2 separate regions of the Homo sapiens genome follow, and region 2 is linked to region 1. Evidence: promoter capture Hi-C in 16 types of primary human blood cells and fetal thymus (Javierre and others, 2016). All regions are on one chromosome and are shown on one strand. Each heading gives the region's core, a stretch centred on a gene start or on the middle of the fragment in contact. The rest is flanking DNA. Distances are from core to core; before and after follow the strand shown. Region 1 holds the start of SIGLEC10 (sialic acid binding Ig like lectin 10). Region 2 overlaps SIGLEC5 (sialic acid binding Ig like lectin 5).

Region 1 (3,721 bases), core at 587-3,086:
GAGCCAAGATCATGCTACTGCACTCCAGCCTGGGCAACAAGAGGGAAACTCCATCTCAAAAAACAAAAACAAACAAACAAACAAACACCTCTGTCTCTACAAAAATTATCAAAAAAAAAAATCAAAAATTATCTGGGCGTGGTGGTGTGTGCCTATAGTCCCGGCTAGTTGGGAGGCTGAGGTGGGAGGATCGCTTGAGCCCAGAAGATGGAGGCTGCACTGAGCCATGATCACACCACTGCACTCCAGCCTGGGCAACAGAGCAAGACCTTGTCTCAAAAACAAAAAACAAAAATGCCATGGATGAAAGAACCAGGACAGGGCAGAGGCTGGGTCATCTCCTCCAGGAGGCCTCTCCTGACTTCCCTCCACCAGGAAGAGCTGACCACTCCTTCCCCAGGTCCCATCCTGAATGTCTGTCCAGCATCCAGTTCATTTAGGGGACCTTCTGTACTTTGTTTCTAAGAATCTTCATTTGCTAACCTGGGGCCCTGGAGCTGACTCACCATGGAGGATTCACCTCCAAGTCCCCCTAAAGCTCAGTGCTTGATACCCAAGGTATGTGGAGGTTGAAGGATGAGTTCTGTGTTTCGGTGTGACCCAAACAGAGTCATTTCAGGAAGAGCTCAGTGAGGGGAAAACATCTTGTAGAGTTTACTCCATTCATTGCAAATTACCCCTTCCCTAGTCTGTTCCCCCCACTCTGCCCCTCACTCCCGCCTTCCTCAAACTCTTCCCATCAGCATTAGCTTTGGACATATGTGTTCTAATCCCAATGGGTGTCCCAATTGAATGACAGAGGAGGAAGGGAGACTGGGAAGTGGACTAGGGCCTGGTTGGGGCAGGAGACTGCTTCTGGGGACCAAGGGTCAGTGAGCTCACCAGGAAGCATGAAGAGGTGGAGCTGACACCACCCTACGGTGGCCAGATTTAGAAAAAAAGAAATTCAACATGCTCAGTTAAATTTGAATTTTAGGCCAGGTGCGGTGGTTCACACCTGTAATCTCAGCACTTTGGGAGGTCAAGGCAGGTGGATCATTTGAGGTCAGGAGTTCAAAACCAGCCCTGCCAACATGGTGAAACCCCACCTCTACTAAAAATACAAAAATTAGCTTGGCGTGGTGGCGCGTGCCTGTAAGCCCAGACTCAGGAGGCTGAGGCAGGAGAATCACTTCAGCCTGGGAGGTGGAGGTTGCAGTAAGCAGAGATTGCACCACTGCACTGCAGCCTGGGTGACAGAGTGAGACTCTGTCTCAAAATATAATTAATTAATTAATTAATTTGAATTTCAGATAAATTTATTTTGCTTTCTGGTATAAGTATATCCCATGCAGCATTTCGGACATACTTATACCAAAAAACATAAAATAAAATACTTTATATTGTCTGTGAAAGCTTTAACCAGGCATCCTGCATTTTACCTGACAAGACCAGCCCCCTCCAGTAACGGTCCCTTCCCCTGTACCCACCACCTCCACCACCAGTGGCCCAGATAAGGGTAGCTCACTGTGGACTTCTCACTTCTGCTTTTCCGATGACCCAGGGCCCAGAGGGAGAGCCCCCACCCCACTACCCCACCCCCAGCCAGGCCCCCAGGATAGACACAAGCCTGCCCTCTCCTCCTACACAGGGAGCTCTGGAAGGACCAGCTCAACAAGCCCAAGGCCAGGCTGGGCCCCCAGGAGACCCAGAGGACAACTGGGCAAGGTGGGCCGGAGAGTGTGGGGGAAGGCAAAGGAGTTCTGTGAGCTCAGCGTCTGAAGCTCATTTCATGCATCAGGCCCCAGGGCTCAGCTTCCGCCTTCGGCTTCCCCTTCTGCCAAGAGCCCTGAGCCACTCACAGCACGACCAGAGAACAGGCCTGTCTCAGGCAGGCCCTGCGCCTCCTATGCGGAGATGCTACTGCCACTGCTGCTGTCCTCGCTGCTGGGCGGTGAGTGGGCCAAGGGCCGGAAAGGACCTGGGGCGGAGCTAGGGCTGGGGTTGCAGGTTGAGCCTCTGTCTCCCCACAGGGTCCCAGGCTATGGATGGGAGATTCTGGATACGAGTGCAGGAGTCAGTGATGGTGCCGGAGGGCCTGTGCATCTCTGTGCCCTGCTCTTTCTCCTACCCCCGACAGGACTGGACAGGGTCTACCCCAGCTTATGGCTACTGGTTCAAAGCAGTGACTGAGACAACCAAGGGTGCTCCTGTGGCCACAAACCACCAGAGTCGAGAGGTGGAAATGAGCACCCGGGGCCGATTCCAGCTCACTGGGGATCCCGCCAAGGGGAACTGCTCCTTGGTGATCAGAGACGCGCAGATGCAGGATGAGTCACAGTACTTCTTTCGGGTGGAGAGAGGAAGCTATGTGAGATATAATTTCATGAACGATGGGTTCTTTCTAAAAGTAACAGGTATGGAATGGGGTGGGAACCCCTGCCTCTCACACTGGGGAGGGACCCTGGGGACAGCCTATGGGCTGAGCAGAGAGGGCTCTCAGGGACCCCTGCAGCACAAGAATCTCCCACCACGGTCTCTGTCCCAGCCCTGACTCAGAAGCCTGATGTCTACATCCCCGAGACCCTGGAGCCCGGGCAGCCGGTGACGGTCATCTGTGTGTTTAACTGGGCCTTTGAGGAATGTCCACCCCCTTCTTTCTCCTGGACGGGGGCTGCCCTCTCCTCCCAAGGAACCAAACCAACGACCTCCCACTTCTCAGTGCTCAGCTTCACGCCCAGACCCCAGGACCACAACACCGACCTCACCTGCCATGTGGACTTCTCCAGAAAGGGTGTGAGCGCACAGAGGACCGTCCGACTCCGTGTGGCCTGTGAGTGTGGCCTGGGAGGGTGGGGTGTGCAGACAGCCCCGGTGGGTGGGGAGGTGGAGGAGCCCAGTGGGACAGTGAGCGGCTCCCAGCTCAGGAGCATCCAGGGAGAGGAAGCTGTGGGGTCCCAGGATGCCGCCGCAGCCCTGGGAGGGGGATGGGAATGGCGTCTGGTCCACACACGTGAGCCCTGGCGCTGGTTGTCACTTGTCTTCCCGGGATAGTCCCACTTTCTTTTCCCTGAGGGAGTTTTTTCCAGGTGTGAGGAATAAATTGTCCCTCCCTGAAGCCAGCTCACAATCTTGTTGCAGATGCCCCCAGAGACCTTGTTATCAGCATTTCACGTGACAACACGCCAGGTACTGAGGGCCGTCGGGCTGGGGCTGGGCCAGTTGTCTTTAGATGAAAAGGCTTCAGGGGATGAGGGGATGTGCTCCTCCCTGTACCCCTTCTCTCTTTCTCCCTCCCTTTCTCTCTTTTTTTTTTTTCCTCCCACTCCAGCCCTGGAGCCCCAGCCCCAGGGAAATGTCCCATACCTGGAAGCCCAAAAAGGCCAGTTCCTGCGGCTCCTCTGTGCTGCTGACAGCCAGCCCCCTGCCACACTGAGCTGGGTCCTGCAGAACAGAGTCCTCTCCTCGTCCCATCCCTGGGGCCCTAGACCCCTGGGGCTGGAGCTGCCCGGGGTGAAGGCTGGGGATTCAGGGCGCTACACCTGCCGAGCGGAGAACAGGCTTGGCTCCCAGCAGCGAGCCCTGGACCTCTCTGTGCAGTGTGAGTGTGCCCAGCAGGGGCCTGGAGTCCATTGGGAGGGCAGAGGGATACAGGGGCTGGGCTCAGGGTCCCAGAGCTGAGGGGGCCTGGAGCCCCAGGCCTCGGAGACCGACCTTCTTACCTGTGTAGACCCTCATGCAG
Region 2 (3,384 bases), core at 874-3,373, 200 kb before region 1:
CTTCATCCTTCCCTACTTCCTTTTAGGGGATACTTCTGACGGCCCTTCTAGCTCACTAATTTGCCCTCAATTATAGTCATTCTATTCTCCATCCCATCCATTGGGCTCTTCCTATGATATTTTTCAGATATTTCCACATGGCCCTTTTTGCATCAAGTACACAATTACATAATTCCTTATTATGTTTCACATTCATTTTGCATGCACACTTTGTTATTGACAAAGTTTCTTATGCTTGTTTTCATGCTGCTAATATTGCCACATCTTTTTAGTGCATGTAATATGCTCAGTTTAGCTTCTTGACCAAAGCGTCCTAGTACTTGTGCTTCTAGTGGTCTATCAGGTTCTGTTGGTTTGCTTTTCTTCAAAGGTGCCCAGCCTTCTGAGCTGTGAGCTCACATTCCCCTGGGGTTATTGGCTACTCTGGCAGTGTTTCTTGAATGAGGGAAGGGCAGATGCTGGCCTGTGTCAGGCTTACTGAGCCAAAGAAATGACAGGGACGCCGGGCACGGTGGCTCACGCCTATAATCCCAGCACTTTGGGAGGCCGAGGTGGGCAGATCACCTGAGGTCGGGAGTTTGAGGCCAGCCCAACCAACATGGAGAAACTCCGTCTCTACTAAAAATACAAAATTAGCCAGGTGTGGTGGCACATGCCTGTAATCCCAGCTACTCGGGAGGCTGAGGCAGGGGAATCTCTTGAACCTGGGAGGTGGAGGTTGCAGTGAGCCGAGATCATGCCATTGCACTCCAGCCTGGGCAACAACAGTGAAGCATCGTCTCAAAAAAAGAGAAATGACTGGGACAAGCCCCAGGGTGGATCCCCTCAAGAACCCAAACCACACCCAACCAGTCCCACTTCCTATCACCCCAGTAAGGCAGCTTAAGTCATCCCTCCATCTTCAGACCCTCGTGGAGAAGCAACATTGGTCAAGGACTCTCGTTGCATTGTGATCCACCAGCCCTGGGAGTTTGGAGTGGAGAAAATGGCAAGGAGAATGTCAAAGACCAGTGAGCTTCCACCTCCGTTCTCCTTCTCCTCACCCCAGTGGGCCTCTGGTGCTTACCCAACACATGCCTGTTGGACACTGGCACATCATAATCCTGTCCATACTCTGAATTCTGCAGTGAGGGGCAGACAATGTTTGTCCCACTGGAAGGGTAGAGGAGAGAAAGGAGCAGAATTCAAGTATGTTTGGGCTAACCCATCCTCTCAACAAGCCAGCTGTCCCCCCGCCCAGTTCTCCCACCCCTTTTCTTCAAATGAGCCTTAACTTTCCCCTAGGGATATCAGTGTGATTGATTGATCATAAATTGATTTGTAAAGTTTTGTTCACCCAGGAGCTCCATCTTTAGTTCCATCATTGGTAGGTCTTGGAGAACAGAGCCGGTGTATGAATTCACTCTTTTGACAAGAACTATGGTAGAGAGAGCTTTGTTTTCTCCTTTATTTTACCTTTAACCATTCTGCACACTTTCATGCCATAGGCAGAATGGTAAAGCGAGGCACAGCATGGTCCCTGGAGTTTGACGTCCTGCATTCAGGTTCTAGATTCACCCACTTGCAAGCTGTGTGACCTTGGATAAGCTAATGAACCTCTCTGTTTTTTTGTTTTCTCCTATAGAAATTGGGTTATTAATATGCTAGTATCTGTCTCGGATTGTTACAAGGAGTGCTTAGTAAAGTGGCAAGCTCACAGGGAGCTCACTTATAACTGTTACCCAGTATTACTTTTCCTTCTGTCTAACAAGGAACTGCATGACGGGGAGGTATTTGGGTGGTTTCAGTCTGCTTTATGTCCTCATTTATACGAACGGCATCTAGCCCAAAGAAAGCACTCAGCAAAGAGCTATTGAGTGAAAGGGTGAACATACTGCATTGTCCTATTTACTAATCTGAGCTGTGCCTTTTCTTTCAGTTGTCAATTTCACCCTTTTTATTTCATATACCGCACACCTATTGATAGACATATGTCTTTATTTCTTCCTTTGCCTGCATAATGCTGGTGTGCATAGCCACTTTTTCATTTTATTTCATCTTTCTTGTGCCTAATATAAGCAGCTCTCTCCAGAAAGTCTATTTTTTTCTGACACAATGAAGCCATTTTTCCCTAACTGCGGAGTCCTTTTAAAAAAACTGTATGGCCAGGTGTGGTGGCTCACACCTGTAATCCCACCACTCTGGAAGGCTAAGCTGGGCCAGTCGCTTAGCCCAGGAGTTTGAGACCAACCTGGGTAACGTGGCGAAACCCTGTCTTTACAAAAATTAGCTGGGCATGGTGGCTTGTGCCTGTGGTCTCAGCTACTCAGGAAGCTGAGGTGGGAGGATTGCTTGAGCCAGGGACGGGAGGTTGCAGTGAGACGAAATCACACCACTGCCCTCCAGCCTGGATGACAGAGTGAAACTCTGTCTCAAAAAGAAAACTTCTGAGCTACTGTTTGAAGACTCACGTTGCTTTCAACATATTTTCCATAGCGTGATGGGTAGGGATATGGGTGAAGGTGGGAGAGGAAAGAAATTGCTTACTTGTATCTGGTTACCATCTTTGCTGGGGACAGGATCTGCTCCATTTTGTTTCTCTTTCATGGAAACTGGGTCCAGGATCAGAATTGCCATCTCTTTTCTGGTTTGCACATAAGACACCTTGTAACCTATGCCGAAGGTATACATTTGCTTCATCAATAATCCGCTCCTCCTGCCTAGGTCAGGGTCTATGTCTGATTTCTCACACTGTACGTGCCCAGAACCTGAAACAGGGGAGACAGGGCTGAGTTCGAATCCTGGCCTCGCCATGTATTAGATGAATAACCCTGGGCAAGCTACTTAACCTCTCTCCACCTCAGTTTCCCTGTGTGTAAGGTGGGGATAATTAGAATATCTTTTATACTGTTGTGGGTTTTTTTTTGGTGATGATTCAATGTGATTAGTAAGTCCTCAATATGGTCTGATCAATCATAGTATTACAAAATTTTGAAAGAATGAGCGAATAGTTGAGTTCACAGGAAATGTATATGGACAGGTGGGGCCGGGATTTGAACCCAGCCCTGTCTGCCCTGTGCCGGTTCCTGGGCACGTACAGTGTGAGAAATCAGACATAGACCCTGACCTAGGCAGCCTATGGCCTGTCCTTAGGAGGAGTGGATTATAAAAGGATGAATTGATAAATGTCACATCAGCCCAACTTCCCTGTGGGAACCATTTGTTGTATTTTTCTCTTATTTGGTGTTGAGGTCTCTCTTTGGGGAGTGGTCATAAAATCTAGCCCGGCCTTGAATGGGAACCCCAGAGATCTGGCCATCATGTTCACAGTGTGACTTTCACAGAATACTCCTTTATCCTGGCACACCACCTGCTGCCTGAGTGCCCAGCCTGTGACCCCCTCTC

What was found. Contacts are between HindIII fragments. The CHiCAGO score rates a contact against its expected background, and 5 or more counts as called.
Region 2: a contact is called between a fragment that was not itself captured here and the fragment with the promoter of SIGLEC10 in region 1, in 3 of 17 cell types (erythroblasts, megakaryocytes and endothelial precursors). The highest score is 8.4, in erythroblasts.

The regions. Positions count from the first base shown.
Region 1 is chr19:51,415,757-51,419,477 of GRCh38, reverse strand. It overlaps SIGLEC10 (sialic acid binding Ig like lectin 10), which reads left to right and starts at 1,836. Exons shown (of 11, transcript NM_033130.5): 1 at 1,836-1,933; 2 at 2,013-2,396; 3 at 2,528-2,812; 4 at 3,121-3,168; 5 at 3,311-3,580. The coding sequence starts at 1,897. SIGLEC10-AS1 (SIGLEC10 antisense RNA 1) reads right to left here. Exons shown (of 3, transcript NR_164125.1): 1 at 3,346-3,721; 2 at 2,748-3,049; 3 at 1,281-2,346. RefSeq lists enhancers at 1,607-1,676, 1,737-1,906. The HindIII fragment of the contact is 3,908 bases long and covers 1,398-3,721 here.
Region 2 is chr19:51,613,192-51,616,575 of GRCh38, reverse strand. The region is part of intron 8 of SIGLEC5 (sialic acid binding Ig like lectin 5); the gene reads left to right. LOC124904753 (a long non-coding RNA gene) reads right to left here. Exons shown (of 3, transcript XR_007067313.1): 2 at 2,527-2,747; 3 at 860-1,152. Among named protein-coding and RNA genes, the nearest start is that of SIGLEC5, 16 kb to the left of the region's middle. RefSeq lists a silencer at 760-909. The HindIII fragment of the contact is 7,305 bases long and covers 1-3,384 here.